Linked DNA regions of Homo sapiens: regions 2, 3, 4 and 5 are each linked to region 1. The links are contacts of gene promoters, found by promoter capture Hi-C in blood cells and fetal thymus (Javierre and others, 2016). All regions are on one chromosome and are shown on one strand. Each heading gives the region's core, a stretch centred on a gene start or on the middle of the fragment in contact. The rest is flanking DNA. Distances are from core to core; before and after follow the strand shown. Region 1 holds the start of IGSF22-AS1 (IGSF22 antisense RNA 1). Region 2 has its middle 18 kb from the start of TPH1. Region 3 overlaps SAAL1 (serum amyloid A like 1). Region 4 holds the start of MRGPRX3 (MAS related GPR family member X3). Region 5 has its middle 18 kb from the start of MRGPRX3.

Region 1 (2,870 bases), core at 222-2,721:
ACCAAGGGCCGAGAGACAATTACCAAGAGCAAAAACCACTCCCAGTTCCTCATTAATAGCACCAAGCGCTCTGACTCAGGGGTGTACCGAATCTTGCTTCAGAATGAGTTTGGAGAAGCACGCTATGACATCCATGTGCGCGTGGCAGGTATGGAGAGAAGGCAGAGGCCTCCAAGACCCATCCCTGTACACTCTCCAAAGCACAGCTCCCCAGTGCCGCTTGAGTTCCTACCACAGGAAAGTCATGCCTTAGGGCCATGAAGATTTCTTTGACACCACAGAGCAAGACTTTATCATACAGAGTATGGTCGGCAGAGAGAGTAGAAATGGGTGGAGGGGCAGGAGGGACAAATGGAGATGAATCCATTAAAAATTGGGGTGACTGCTTAAAGAGAGCTGGAAGCTTTAAAATAAAGCTCTAAACCCCCAAGGAAGGAATGGATTCATTTTTACTGAACAGTAACTACATGCCAGTCTCTTTACCCACTATTTCTACGAAATAGTCATTGTCAGCTCTATTTTGCAATTGAGGAAAGAAGTCTCAGATAAGTAACTTACCCCAGGTCACGAGGCTAGTAAATGGCAGAGCAGACTTCAGAAATAGTTTTCCGACTCCAAGACACCAGCTGCCTGAGACTTGCCCCATCTTATCTTCCATCGGACTTGGCAGATGGCTGGGGTGGGGACATAATACTTCAGGTGCCCCAAGGTCGCTGACAGATCTTCCAACTCTTCCAGATTTCCCTCGGCCCCCCACAAACCTACGGTTGTTTGAGGAAGTCCCCAACACAGTGACTCTGACCTGGAACCACAGCCCAGATGTGCAGGAGGACGGTGAGGCTCACTACATCATCATGAAGCGGGATGCAAGCACAGCCACCTGGTACACGGCAGCCGAGCGTGTCTTCAGCAACAAGTACACAGTGACGGGGCTGCTCCCAGGCAGGAAGTACTACTTCAGAGTGGTGGCTCGGAATGAAATCGGTGACAGTGAGCCACTTGACTCCAGGGACACCTGGCTCATCAATAAGGACCAGAGTGAGTCTGGGACTTGCAGTTAGGGTTAAGTCTGGGTGCCCTGATGGTGGGGATGACATAAGGGTCCCAAAGGGTACCCAAGAGGCAAGATAAAATCTGAAAACCATTGAGATAGAACGGTTAATATCTGGGACGCTGCGGAGAGAAGGAAATATTGGCTTTCTTCGGGGTACTTAGGGGTGAGACTAAAGTGGAGGTGGGGAGGTACCTTTGGGGGCAGAGAGGACGGTGGAGGGGCTGCGGAGGGACATAGAGCGCAAACGCGTTCTGCTCTGAGGGGAGGGTCTAACGGGGCTGAGAACAGGGGAGGGCTCTAGGGAGCCGGGAGGATGTCTGGGATCCCTGGAGGCTAGGGGTTAAGGGTGGGGGCCGCGTCGGGAAACTCGAACTGAGGAGCTAAAGGGATAAGAGGGGAGACTGTGGTCGCTGATATGACGTAGGGGAAGCTTGGAGGCGGAGTTAAAGGCTGGGAATAACCGGGTCCAGGAAGCTGGCGCTGGAATGACATCTCGGCCCCAGGGGTGTGGGAAAGCGTGGTTTGGGTGGCAGAACCCTGGAGTGGCTGGGGACGGGGCTGGGGGGTCGGGGGAGGCCTGGGGGCGGGTGGGGAGCCCTTAAGAACCAGTGTAACATTGGGCCCCCAGAGTTGGTGGCGCTGGGAATGTGGCCTAGGTCCTCGGGGTTCCGTGTAAGCTGAACTGTAAGACGTGGGTGGTGGGTGGGGGCCTTGGGGCGCCCTCACGGCCTGCCCCGCCCCGCCCGCGCAGTCCAGGACCTGAGCGCCAAGCTCAAGCCCTACGAGAAGAAGGACTGGCGCCACGCGCCGCGCTTCGTGACGCCCCTCAAGCCACACACGGTGCTCCGCGGCCAGGACTGCACCATGACCTGCGCCTTCCTTGGGAACCCGCGGCCCACAGTGACCCTCTACAAGGGCGACGTCAACATCACGGCCAACTCCAAGTTCTGGTACAACTCCACCAGCGGCGTGTGCACCCTCGTCATCCCCACCTGCACGCTCAAGGACAGCGGCGATTACAGCGTGCTGGTGGAGAACGAGCTGGGCAAGGACCGCAGCAGCTGCACGCTCACCGTCTATGGTGAGGGCGCCGCGGGGTCCGGCCTCGAGGAGGGGGAGAGGCGCAAAAGGCTGGTCTTGTGGGCCATTGGTCAACTATTTGGCTGGCACCGTTTTTTAATCTGACTGCCAACAGGTGGTGCAAACATTCTTAATTGGCCACAGTTCTTACCACTCTCCCATCCTTTCGATGTCATTTGTTATATGCCTGGCCCCTGCAGACATGAGAGTTCTCAATCCCTAGATAAGATGTGGTTTGCAACTCTTGGTGAGCCTAGACCTGCCTTCAGAAAAAAGATACTGGTGATCAGGACTCAACCAGACTCACCAATCACGATCTCTCTGGCACGGTTCTGGAAATAACCTATATGTTTACAAAATTTTGCGGGTGATTCTGATGTGCAATAAAAATTAAAACTGGTCTAGGATAAGGACCGGTGGGGGGCACAAACAAGGGAAGGAGCGAAGGGAACCCTCCCTTTTGTACATGCATGCCATGTTTCTACTCATGTGTGCACACATAGGGGGAAGCATTTTATTCCTTCCCAGTCTACTGTCTTCATAGCCACACAGCTAGCAGCATGAACTCTAAATGCAAAGCTGGCCTGCCTTGCTTTCTGTTGCTTAAATTTCCCCCAGCTTTCCTCTCATGGTAAAATCCCAAACCAAGAAGGTTTCCCCCTCCCCCACCTCTCATCTCACCTTCTGCTACTCCTGAACCTTCCATGACACTCCATTGCTGTGGTCTCCATGGTTA
Region 2 (2,870 bases), core at 215-2,714, 640 kb after region 1:
GTCTGCGTTGTATTTACTCATATCATCTACAAAGTAGAGGCTGCTCTGGGGTTCTCTGAGGCTTCTTTTTCCTGGCCAGGCTTGTTGTGAGTCCTGGCTCCTTTGGTATATCAGACACTTCCTCAGCAGGTTACATCCACGTCATGTGTGCACCTGATTATCAGCGGCTTTGTTGCCCACTGAGGAAAATGGACCCTCCCTCTCCAAGTGACCAGCAAAGGCAGTTTAAGGTCATGCTGCTGCTCTCTGTAGGGTGGGGCTTGGGCCTTTTTGATTACCTTCTGCCGCAATGGAGCCTGTAAAATCTTCTAATATCTGGCACCCATGAGGAGGTGCCCCTGATTAGCCTCTTCCAGGGTGGAGTATGGGGCATTTATGCTATGTAGATAGGATTTTCCCAAAGATGCGAGGAAGCTCTCTCCTTCTGTCCATTTGGAACTCCAGGAGTGGCAGTCCTTGTCTCTCCACATGGTGTATTTTCTTCTCTTAACTCTCCCAGATGGTCACATTTGGATTCTCTCAGAATCTTCCTGATTTCCATGAAAGCTCGGTCACAGTACCTTAAGCTCAGTTGGAGAAACAAAGAAGGGAGGTTAATCATCACGTTTGCTCATTTCCCCTGATGTAGACTTATCATACCCTTTCATAAAAGCTTCAGAGGTCATTAATTTGACAAATGGTACTGGCTTTGCTTTCTGCAGCCTCAACAAATGCTGTTTAACTTGTTGGAGAAATGGCTAGTGGCACTGTATGAGCAGGGCGATAATGCCTCTTTGAACAACACAAAGCAAACATTAAGACAGCAGACATTGAGGGAAATCAAGTGTGCCCAAGTAACGGGGCCAATTTCCCCAAGCACAGTTGATTCTCATGCTATAAGATAGTTTTCCTCACTCCAAAATCTGAGTAGCCAGCACTTCCTAATGATTCAGACCATTCTGTGTTTCCATATTAATGGCATTTTTGCACAGTTTGCGTTATTAACTTGAGCAGGAATGCTGCATGGTACAACTCCGGGGGGCACCATTCACGCTGTCTTTAATGTAAATCACGAGTCCTAGTCTTAGAATGTCTTGGCTCTTCCAGATGGTATTGAGTGCTTTCATAATTATCACTAAAGGATTGGGAGGTTTCTATATGATTCAGAACCCAAACTTAATGAAGTCTTAAAAACCTGAAGGAACTGAAAAATGAAATATATCTTTGGGTTCCTCAATCTACTTTTTGAAATGTTGTGGTACATTGAGGTAAAATGTTTCCAAGGATAAGTGAGGCCTTAGGTTCTGTTCCCCCTCTGCCACTTACTGTGTGACTTTTGGCAAGCTGTAATGCACAGCAAATGAAAGGCTTTGTCGTGATCGATACTTGTTGGGCCATTTTGCTCAGTGTGTTTGAAATGGCCACAAGCCAACACTTCATGAGGCAATGTGTTGAAGCAGAGAAGTTCAAGTGATAAACAGGGTTTCCAATTGTAATTTTAAAAAGTGTAATGAGAATTGAAGGGGACTTGGAATGAAATTTGTGTAATGCTGTGTGTAAACAGACTTGTGCACCACTCTTCCCGTAAAGCCATTTGGGTGTCATCTGATATGAGAGCTCACTGAAGATGTCATGTTGTGAAGATTACTATGATTTTTGCAGGGAGATTTAGTAGATCTGGATCTTGAGGACTTAAGAGATTATGTCCCGGCCTAACCTCTCTCCTCCATCCCTTTGCTTCATCAAATTAATTTCAATTTGAACATGGATAGAATGCCATATGGCTTCTAACATCTGAGGTCTTAAAGAAGCAGCCTCTGTTTCACACGCGTGGAGGCATAAATGGAGCTTTGACCTTCATGATTAAGGATTACAGACAGCATTTTGTTTTTATTATCATGTCTTGCATTTCTCTCACATCTCACATAGACTTGCTTTTTTCTTTTTGTGTTTGAGACGGAGTCTCAATCTGTTGCCCAGGCTGGAGTGCAGTGGCACGATCTCCACTCACTGCAACGTCCGCCTCGTGGGCTTAAGTGATTTTCGTGCCTCATCCTTCCAAGTAGCTGGGACTAAAGGTGCCCGCCACCATGCCCAGCTTCATTTTTGTATTCATATATTCCTTCTCAACAAGCATGTATTGGATAATTACTTATTAACAGCCTTCTCTGTAATAGGCACTGTGCTGGATCCTGCCGTAGAGGTGAAAGGCACAGTTCCTGCCCTGAAAGAGTTTATGGCCAAGGAGAGAAACAAAGGAACAAATATTTACAATGCCATAGACAGAAGTAAGCTTAGGGAGCGTTCCCACGGCAACTGTGGTTTCTGGAAAATGGTTGTCGCTTGTTACAGGGATCTCCTTCAAGTAAATGATAAAATCTAAGCTAAACATGTACATATTCATTCACTGGAGTTCAAATCACGTTTCCTCTTAGAAGAGGTAGCATGATGAGTAAAACCACACAGAGCTGAGAGACAGAACAGGTGGTTTCTAGTTCATGTTATGCCATTTACAAGCCGTGTAACTTTAGATAAGTCACCGAACCATCTGAGTCTCAGTTACTTTAATGACCAAAGTAAACAATATAAATAAAAGTACTTTGAAAAATGTAAAGCACTATATAAATTTTAGAGATTGATATCAGAAAAACCTTTAGTTTGCTGCATGCACACAATATATAGCTGAAGAATAGTAAGCACAACTTTTACCTTGGGCCTAATTTTTCCCTGAAGAAAAATTTCCCTAATCTTTCTTAACCATACACATAAATCACATTGTGATGTCCAAAACTATTCTTTTTACCTAAATCTCCAGTCACAAGACAATTAGCGTGCATTTTAAACTCTCAGTTTGTATATTAGCATGGTATTAAAATCTCTATAGATCAGCC
Region 3 (2,870 bases), core at 158-2,657, 630 kb after region 1:
TGAATTTCTTGGGTAATAATGTATCTTTTCCATATTTATCGCATGTATTTTTTTCCCATTCTTTGCTGTTGTTTCTGTTTTTTGGAGCAAGGGACATCGATATTTCTTAACTTTTAAGTGGTGGGAACATCAAAGAAAGGTGGGCTGAGAATACACGAGTGCTATGTCATGCAAATTCTTATGTCATATTTAGGGGATTTAGACTTCATCTTGAAAAAGCTGAGGAACTACTAAAGATTTTTTACTTTTAAGCACCAAGTGATACGATCAGTTTAGAAAGATTACTCCAAAAGCAATAGAGAGGAAGGAGTAGAGAGAGTTGAGGCTGGAGGGCAGGAGATCAACTAACAGGCTCTTGTGGTTGGTAATCTTCAAGAATAATCTGAAAAATGATGGCAGCCTAAACAATGGAAGTTTGAATGGAGAGGAGGGATGGGGGTAAGAGAGATTTGGTAGAATAGAATTGAGCACTTGCCGGGAGGAGTCAGCAGGAGGGGAGAAGGAAAAGTCTTGGCTGTGTTCCAAGTTTGTAGTCTGTGTAGCAGGGTGGATGGTGGTGCCCTTCACTAAAGTAAAGACGACAGTGGAGAACATGTTTGGGTTACATAAGCCTCCTTGATGTTGGTGGGTTCAGGTGGGACATTTGAAATGCCTATGAAGTCAGGAGGGAATTGAATATCCTGATTTGTTTTTATTCACTAGTTAAAGCTTGAAAAATTTTCCTTTTTTGACATTAAATCTTGTTGTTGTTTTAGGAGACGGTGGCTCAGGGAGTAAAGGAAGGCCAGTTGAGCAAACAGAAGTGTTCCTCTGCATTTCAAAACCTTCTTCCTTTCTATAGCCCTGTGGTGAGTATGGGTAAATGTATATAGGTGGCCAAGTTTTGTAGGATTACTAAATGTTTTCAAGTAAGCACTTGATTTCGAGGTCATTGTCAAAAATGATAGTATATACAATTTATATGACTTAATGCCTTTGTCAGATAGATGACTGCTGGAAACAGAAAACCAAATACCGTATGTTCTCACTTGGAAGTAGGAGCTAAACCATTGGATACTATGGACATACAAATGGGAGCAGTAGACACTGGGGACCACAGGAGGAGGGGAGGGAGAGAGGGAGGGCAAGGGCTGAAAAACTACCTATTGGGTACTAAGCTCACTGCCTGGGTAACAGGTTCATCTGTGCCTCAAACCTCGGCATCATGTAATATACCTTTATAACAAACCTGCACATTTAGACTCCCCTGAGTCTACAATAAAAGTTGAGGGAAAAAAAGATGACTACTGGAAAATTCATAATAGTATTGGGAGTAACAATTCTAAGAGGAAAAAAATAAGCTCTGAATTTATAGTACTCCTTTCTGTTATGAAGTAGATAACATCTATATTAAGCCAAAATCAGATTCTTGGGAATAGTCAGTAGGTTTTTATGGTTCTTCAAATGACATCACATTTCCTACCATTAGAATCAGATTTCAAAATAGGAACTTTTTCAGGAAAATGAAGGACAGAATGTGGGAACAGACTGTAAAGAAGAGGCGGGGGGAGAAGTACTAGCTCAAGAGTAAAACGGAATGGGAAAGCATAGTCATTTCCTTGAGAATGATTTAGAAGACTGCTTAGGAAGTACTGTTACTATCATCTGGAGATCTGCCAGCATTTCTTTTCCATTGGACCATTTAGAAACCACAGGTAGAGCAATCAGTACCTTAAAGCACGTTTTTCTCTTCTGTGTTTGATTTTTGTTTGTTTGTTTGACTCACAGGTGGAAGATTTTATTAAAATCCTACGTGAAGTTGATAAGGCGCTTGCTGATGACTTGGAAAAAAACTTCCCAAGTTTGAAGGTTCAGACTTAAAACCTGAATTGGAATTACTTCTGTACAAGAAATAAACTTTATTTTTCTCACTGACAGTTGAAATTGACTTATTGGAAATATTAACTAAAGCCCATATTAGACCATAATTGTCTGGTGTTAACATTTTTCTGTCCTAGACTTGTCTCACTTTTTTTGACTTTGGAATCTGAGGTTTCACCACTGTCACCCCTCTTTTTATGTGATATTTATCATCCTCAGTTGAGGAAAGCAAAAATGTAAGCTTATCATTGAGGTTCTTTTTAGGATATGTGCGAGATCAGTGTTGATTTTCTTCATAGCTGTTAATTTTGTTTGTTTGTTTGTTTGTTTTGAGACAGAGTCTCACTCTGTCGCCCAGGCTGAAGTGCAGTGGTGCGATCTCAGCTCACTGCAAGCTCCGCCTCCTGGGTTTATGCCATTCTCCTGCCTCAGCCTCCCGAGTAACTGGGACCACAGGTGCCCGCCACCACGCCTGGCTAATTTTTTGTATTTTTAGTAGAGACAGGGTTTCACTGTGTTAGCCAGGATGGTCTCGATCTGACCTCGTGATCTGCCCGCCTTGGCCTCCCAAAGTGCTGGGATTACAGGCGTGAGCCACCGTGCCCAGCCTAATTTGATTTTTTTAAGTGAGAATTACGTCTTTGTATCCACTGTTAAGTATATTCAGCTGCAGTAACAGAAACCCTCCTGTAGCAGCTGAATCTGATCTCTTTCAGGAACCTTATGCAAAAATCCAGATGTAATGAGGTGGCTCCTTTCACCCTTCACGTGGTCTGCCAGGTAGGCCTTTGCGTTCATGTTTATTGCCTTGTGGTTAAGGGGGCTGTGCCATCTCTGGGCCTTTATCCACATTCAGGAAGAAAAAGGGAGAAAGAGAAGGGGCTTTTTCCTACCAAGTCTTTATGTGTGTTTGGCTGGGTTGGGGGGGTGCTTTTTAATAGATTTTTAAGAAAATATCTGTTAGGAATAACAAAGCCAGCTTTCTGAACCTCACTTTTGGTATAGCCCCT
Region 4 (2,870 bases), core at 232-2,731, 570 kb after region 1:
TAAGACTGGAATGCTAATGTCGCTGGGAACCATGTAGGATCACAAGGATGAGGGCAACTCTCTAGGAACTGGGGAGCAGCAATTTTTGGAATTCTGATGTATGATGCTTTGGAGCTTCTAGTTCAGATCTCGAAGAGTGTCATTTTTGTGTATTTACAGGGGATTCTTTCCAGAACCCCAGCACAGACCAAAATCTGCAGATGCTCAATTTCCTTATATGTGGTATTTGTATATACTCTATGCACTTTCTCCCAGATACATTAAATCATTTAAAGTTATTTAGAATAACTGACAAAATGCAAATGCTATATAAGTTCTTGTTATATTGTAGTTTTTCAGAAATAATGACAAAGAAATACAAGTTTGTACCTGTTCAGTACATACACAACTCCGCCACACCTTTATTTTTGGAAAAGTTTCCTCCTGTAGTTTGTTGAATCTGTAGATTCAGAACCTAGTGACCCAGAGGCACAACTATACTTTCTTGTTTAAGATATTTCTTCTTCATGTCTTTATTAGATCAGCCAAACTTATATTCTAAACAAAATACATATGTTCTTTTTAAAATTACATTTTATTTTCTATGCATTTTTAACAAATGCAAACATTTCTGCATAAAAGTGACAGTAGAGAAAGACAAGCCAAACATTAAAGTAGTCTGATAGAGCTGAAATGAGACAGGGATCAATCAGATAGAGAAAGCCCCAGGAATTAGGAGGATACAAGAAGGTGAGAGGGATAGTCTCATTTACCATGAGGATTTGCTTTCCATTCTTCTTTATCCTGTTTGACATCCCAAGAGAGTGGCTTCTATGTACCACATCAGTGGGATTCTTTTTATTTCTGGTTTCTGGTGGAATTGAGACACTGGGAGACACCAGCAGGAGACTGGAAGACAGCAGGAAAGCACCTTGGGATTTCCATCTCCTGGCTCTCTGTCTGTGTATTAGTTCATTCTCAAATTGCTAAAAAGAAATACCTGAGACTGGGAAATTTATGAAGGAAATGGGTTTAACTGGCTAATAGCTCTACAGACTGTACAAGAAGCATAGCAGCTTCTGCTTCTGGGGAGGCCTCAGGAAGCTTCCAATCCTGGTGAAAGGCAAAGGGGGAGCGAGGCGTCTCACATGGTGAGAGCAGGAGTAAGAGAGAGGGAGGAGGTGCTACACGCTTTTAAACAACTAGATTTCATGAGAACTCGTCAGTATCACAACAACAATACCAAAGGGGGATGGTGTTAAAACATTCATGCAAAACCATCCCCGTGATCTAATAATCATCTCCCACAAGGCCCTTCCTCCAACATTGGAAATTACAATCAACATGAGATTTTGGTGGGAACACAGATCCAAACTATATCAGCCTGTGTGGCTGTGCGTTGGCCACGCAGGGCTTCTCCACTTGCCTGCTCATGCTCTCCCACCCTTATGGCTACAGCTATGGCTATAGTGACAATGGTAACTGCTCCTTCCCTGTCCGTTTCAGCCTAGGGGAGGAAGTAGTGCTCCCCTATGTATTGCTGCTTAGGATCCTGACCCTTAACTCTGTGCATCTTTGTAAATACTTTCCTCATGAAACACTCCTTAATTATTGGGCCATCTATATCTTCCTTAGACCTTTCCAGATAGGCAAAGAAGAATAAATTTGAAAAGTAAGTGAAACAAAGAAACTGGCTCTATAGCAGTTCAACTCTGGGAAGAAATGCCTGCATGTCCCCTTGCTCGTTAAATGAATGTAAGAGGCAGCAGTCTCTCCATGAGGGCAGATTGAATGATTGGAATGAAGGAGGTGATATGGGGAGATAAATTAGAAGGGGGGACACCATTTAGAGCTCACACAGTTTGGGTTGACAGCACTCAGTTTCTGAAAGGAAGCTTCATGTCTCCTGTCTTTTCCTGAAACAAGCTCGTGACCCCCTGCATGTAGCACCAAGGTGGAAGCATAAGGACATGATCTTACAGCAAAAATCATAACTGACTGTGGAAGAAGAGAGTTCTTGGTACTTACCCTTATCGTTCCTTCTTTGTCCAGTGGTGAAGACCTCCCTTGTGCTAAAGGTAGAGAGCCTTTATGGGATTCAGTGACTTCAGAGGACTTTTCTGTGTTGCTTAATTCAGGAGATGCCTACAGGAGCTGAAATGAAAGCTGGTGAGCAATCCAGGCTTACGAAGATGCTGGACAGTCTTGTTATTTCCTGTATGAGGACTATGGGCAAATCAGAGGCCAGAGGTATTTGAGACACAAATCCTAACTGAGATGATTCTTGGCCTCTGTCCCATATCCAGTACATTTAAGCCTCTCCTATCACGTCCCATCTTGTTCAACTTCCTGTAAGTAATTGCTGTCCTGATTTTAAAAATCAATTATGGGCCTAGGCATCACATTAAGCAATGTGAACTATCATTATGAGGCTTTATATCCAAATGAAAAAGTAGATCATGGGACCATTCAAGGCTGACAATGGCCTGACACAATTTTTTGATGTTTTCTTTATCATAGTGGTGATATATTCATGTGTATACTTTCTTTCCAAATGCCAGAGAAGTGTATGCAAGGTGAAAATCTAGAGTCCCATTGTCCAGAGGCTACCACTTGCTACACTTTTCATTCTTACTTCATTATTATAAACTCTGAACAGTGAACTTTTTTAAATTCTGTGAAATTAAATCATTTATTATTATTATTTTTATTTCATTGGGATTTTGGGGAACAGGTGGTGTTTGCTTCCATGGATAAGTTCTTTAGTGGTAATTTCTGAGATTTTGGTGCACCCATCACCTGAGCAGTGTACACTGTACCCAATGTGTAGTCTTTTATCCCTCGCCTCTCTTCCATCCTTCCCCTCAAGTCCCCAGAGTTCATTATATCAT
Region 5 (2,870 bases), core at 257-2,756, 560 kb after region 1:
TTCTAAGTGGTGTGCTGGGTGTGCATAACACAAACCTACTTCATTCTCTCTCCCAGATCTTGGGTAGAATTTCTTTTGCTAATGCAAACTTTTGTTTCAGAGGAGTTCCTGAGGGGAACCAGAAAAATTTCAGGGCTTGGAATGTAAAGAGACATGCTCATGCAGATTTTAACTGAAGAAAGAGGACTAGCTTCCATCTGGGTGAATAACAGTAACCAGTTGAGTATTTATTAGGTATTATCCCTCTTAATCTTTTCAAGAGCCTAGGAAGTAAGAAGAATTAGTAATATTCCCATTTTACAGGAGATGACAAAGGAAGACATAAAGGATGTGTAATTATTTCTTAGTCTCACACGATGTGGATTAGAACCCAGCAGGGCTGCCTCAGAGTTTATCTTTTTTGCCAACCCTTTGGATCCAGCACCACTGTGTGTTGCTTACACATCACTGTGTGGGAAAGCAGAGGACATTGTAATTCCCAATATAAATCCAAGATGGTAGTCAAAACTGTGGACTGAAAAAAGTAACGTAAGCAAACTCTGGAGACAATAAGAAACCAACCTAATATCTAACAAATGAGAGTGAAGGGAAACCAATTAGGAGCACAATAAGGAAATCAGAGACCCTTTCCTTCCTCATGAAGTCAAGCTTTCCTCTGGAATCCTGAGGAGCCACAGGCGTAGAAAGCATCCAAGTGGAAACAAAATGCATCCTTCCTCAGGTGTACAGAGAGATATCAAAAGTGAGTGCATCCATCCTGAGCTGTCTTAGAGAAACAAGCTGCCACAGCCTTGGGCCAGAAAGGGAAATGGAAGGAAAACTGTGATCCCCACTCAGGGCACTTAACAGTTTGTGCATCTATATTTAGGGTATATATTTGATATACCGTATTTAACATTTGAAACATTTGTCTTCCTCATTAAACCTGAAGCTCCATAGGGAGTAAGCCATGCCTGTTTTTGTTCACTGTAGTATCACCAACATTTAGCATGTGATATGGTTTGGCTCTGTGTCCCTACCCAATCTCATCTTGAGTTGTAATCCTCATGTGTGGAGGGAGGGAGCTGGTTGGACATGATTGGATCATGGGGCAGGATTTCCCCCTTGCTGTTCCCATGATAGCAAGTGAGTTCTTACGAGTTCTGGTTGTTTCAGTGTCTGGCACTTTCCCATTCTCTCTCTCTCTCTCTTTCTCTCTCCTGCTGCCATGTAAGGCATGACTTGCTTCCCTTTCACCTTCCTTCATGACTGTAATTTTCCTGAGACCTCCCAAATCATGTGGAACTGTGAGTCAATTAAATCTCTCTTCTTTGTAACTTACTCAGTCTCAGGTAGTATATTTATAGCAGTGTGAGAACAGACTAATACAGCATGTGTTCCTTAAAGACTATCTATTGTACTATTCTCATTTGACATAAGAAGGAGTTGAGGCTACAAGAGTCAGACTTGTTTTTCCAATATCACAAAGAGCAGGCCCCATGTCAACATCCCTGTATGAGACTTATGTACTGTTCTCTGCCCCATCATTCATTATTTCTGAGGAGCTCCTGAAAAACCTTGATGTGAGCAAAAAATCTCAGAGATAATCAAGGGTTTCAGAGACTGCCAAGTTGCCCCAATCTCCATTCTCCTCTTCAGTGACATAACAATTCTGAGCATTTAAGAGCAGCACAAGGACACATGTCCCAGTTTTCCTTGATGCTGGATGACATCATAAGACCAGGTTCTTGTCAGTGGAAGGTGAGCAGATGTGATGTAAGGAAGTCCGGGCTCGTGGGATCAATGGAAGAAGTACAGGCTCCCCTTTCCCTCTTTCTTTTTCCATCAGGCTAGAATGCTGATGTGGGTGGGAACCAGTAAGACCACAAAGAATGAGGACTCCACTCTATGGACTGGGAAGCAGCAGTTTTTGGAGTCTTAATGTATGATGCCTTGAAGCCTCCAACTTATATCTAAGATACATTCATTCCTGGGCATTACAGGCAATTCATTCTTGGACCCCTGCATGCACCACAATCTCCAGATGTTCAGTTTCCTTATAGAAAATGGCATAGCATTTATATATAACCTACCCACATTCTCCTATATACTTTAAATGATTTCTACTTTACTAATAATACCTAAGACCATCTAAATGCTGTATAAATAGTTGTTATATTTTTTAGGGAAGAAAGGATAAAAATGTCTGTACCTATTCAGTACAGATGTCACTATCCTTTTTTATTTTCCTTTTCTGACCATTTTTGATTTGCTATTGGGTGAATCCCTGGATGTGGAAACTATGGATATGGAGAATCCACTGTACTTTCTTGTTTAAGATATTTTGATTTAATAAAGATATCTTTATTAGAACAACTAAGCTTATACTCAAACTAAAAGAAATATATTTTCTCTTAAAAATTATCTTCCAATTAGTCATTTTTAATTAATGTGGGTGTTTGTCCATAAAATTGACACTAGAGAGAGAAGGTGGAAACAGAAAAAAAAAAAATAGATGGAGCTGTGATGATACATGATTCAATGACATTTAGATTGAGAAAAACCCCAGAAAGTAGGAGGATATAAGAAGGTCAGAGAGATAGTCTCATTTTCCCTAAGGATTTTTTGTCCCTTCTTTTCTACCCTATTTGGCGTTCCAAGATGGTGGCTTCTATGTACCTCATAAATGAGATTCTTTTCCTTCTGGTTTCTGGTTCAACTGAGCAACTAGGAGACACTAGCAGGAGACTGGAGGGCAGGAGGACAGCAATTTTGGGATTTCTGGCTCTCTGCCTGTGATGCTGTGTGATGGTGATGCAGGGTTCTCCACCTGCCTCATCCTCTCCCACCTTTACAGTTACAGCTACAGCTATGCTTTTAATGGTAACTGC

The links. The method cuts DNA at HindIII sites, captures the fragments that hold promoters and counts their contacts. A CHiCAGO score of 5 or more calls a contact.
Region 2: a contact is called between a fragment that was not itself captured here and the fragment with the promoter of IGSF22-AS1 in region 1, in 1 of 17 cell types (total B cells). The highest score is 5.3, in total B cells.
Region 3: a contact is called between a fragment that was not itself captured here and the fragment with the promoter of IGSF22-AS1 in region 1, in 2 of 17 cell types (activated CD4 T cells and total B cells). The highest score is 6.7, in activated CD4 T cells.
Region 4: a fragment that was not itself captured here is called in contact with the fragment with the promoter of IGSF22-AS1 in region 1 in 2 of 17 cell types (naive B cells and total B cells); the score reaches 7.6 in naive B cells.
Region 5: a fragment that was not itself captured here is called in contact with the fragment with the promoter of IGSF22-AS1 in region 1 in 3 of 17 cell types (total B cells, naive B cells and non-activated CD4 T cells); the score reaches 9.0 in total B cells.

What each region holds. Positions count from the first base shown.
Region 1 is chr11:18,705,082-18,707,951 of GRCh38, reverse strand. IGSF22-AS1 (IGSF22 antisense RNA 1) reads right to left here and starts at 1,471. Exons shown (of 3, transcript NR_186353.1): 1 at 803-1,471; 2 at 559-674. IGSF22 (immunoglobulin superfamily member 22) reads left to right here. Exons shown (of 23, transcript NM_173588.4): 20 at 1-148; 21 at 739-1,038; 22 at 1,806-2,135. The HindIII fragment of the contact is 1,081 bases long and covers 406-1,486 here.
Region 2 is chr11:18,062,744-18,065,613 of GRCh38, reverse strand. No RefSeq gene overlaps it. Among named protein-coding and RNA genes, the nearest start is that of TPH1, 18 kb to the right of the region's middle. The HindIII fragment of the contact is 1,620 bases long and covers 655-2,274 here.
Region 3 is chr11:18,079,389-18,082,258 of GRCh38, reverse strand. It overlaps SAAL1 (serum amyloid A like 1), which reads left to right. Exons shown (of 12, transcript NM_138421.3): 11 at 756-848; 12 at 1,768-1,967. The coding sequence ends at 1,860. Among named protein-coding and RNA genes, the nearest start is that of SAAL1, 25 kb to the left of the region's middle. The HindIII fragment of the contact is 1,393 bases long and covers 711-2,103 here.
Region 4 is chr11:18,131,877-18,134,746 of GRCh38, reverse strand. It overlaps MRGPRX3 (MAS related GPR family member X3), which reads right to left and starts at 2,176. Exons shown (of 2, transcript NM_001370464.1): 1 at 2,008-2,176. The HindIII fragment of the contact is 791 bases long and covers 1,086-1,876 here.
Region 5 is chr11:18,148,844-18,151,713 of GRCh38, reverse strand. No RefSeq gene overlaps it. Among named protein-coding and RNA genes, the nearest start is that of MRGPRX3, 18 kb to the right of the region's middle. The HindIII fragment of the contact is 1,712 bases long and covers 651-2,362 here.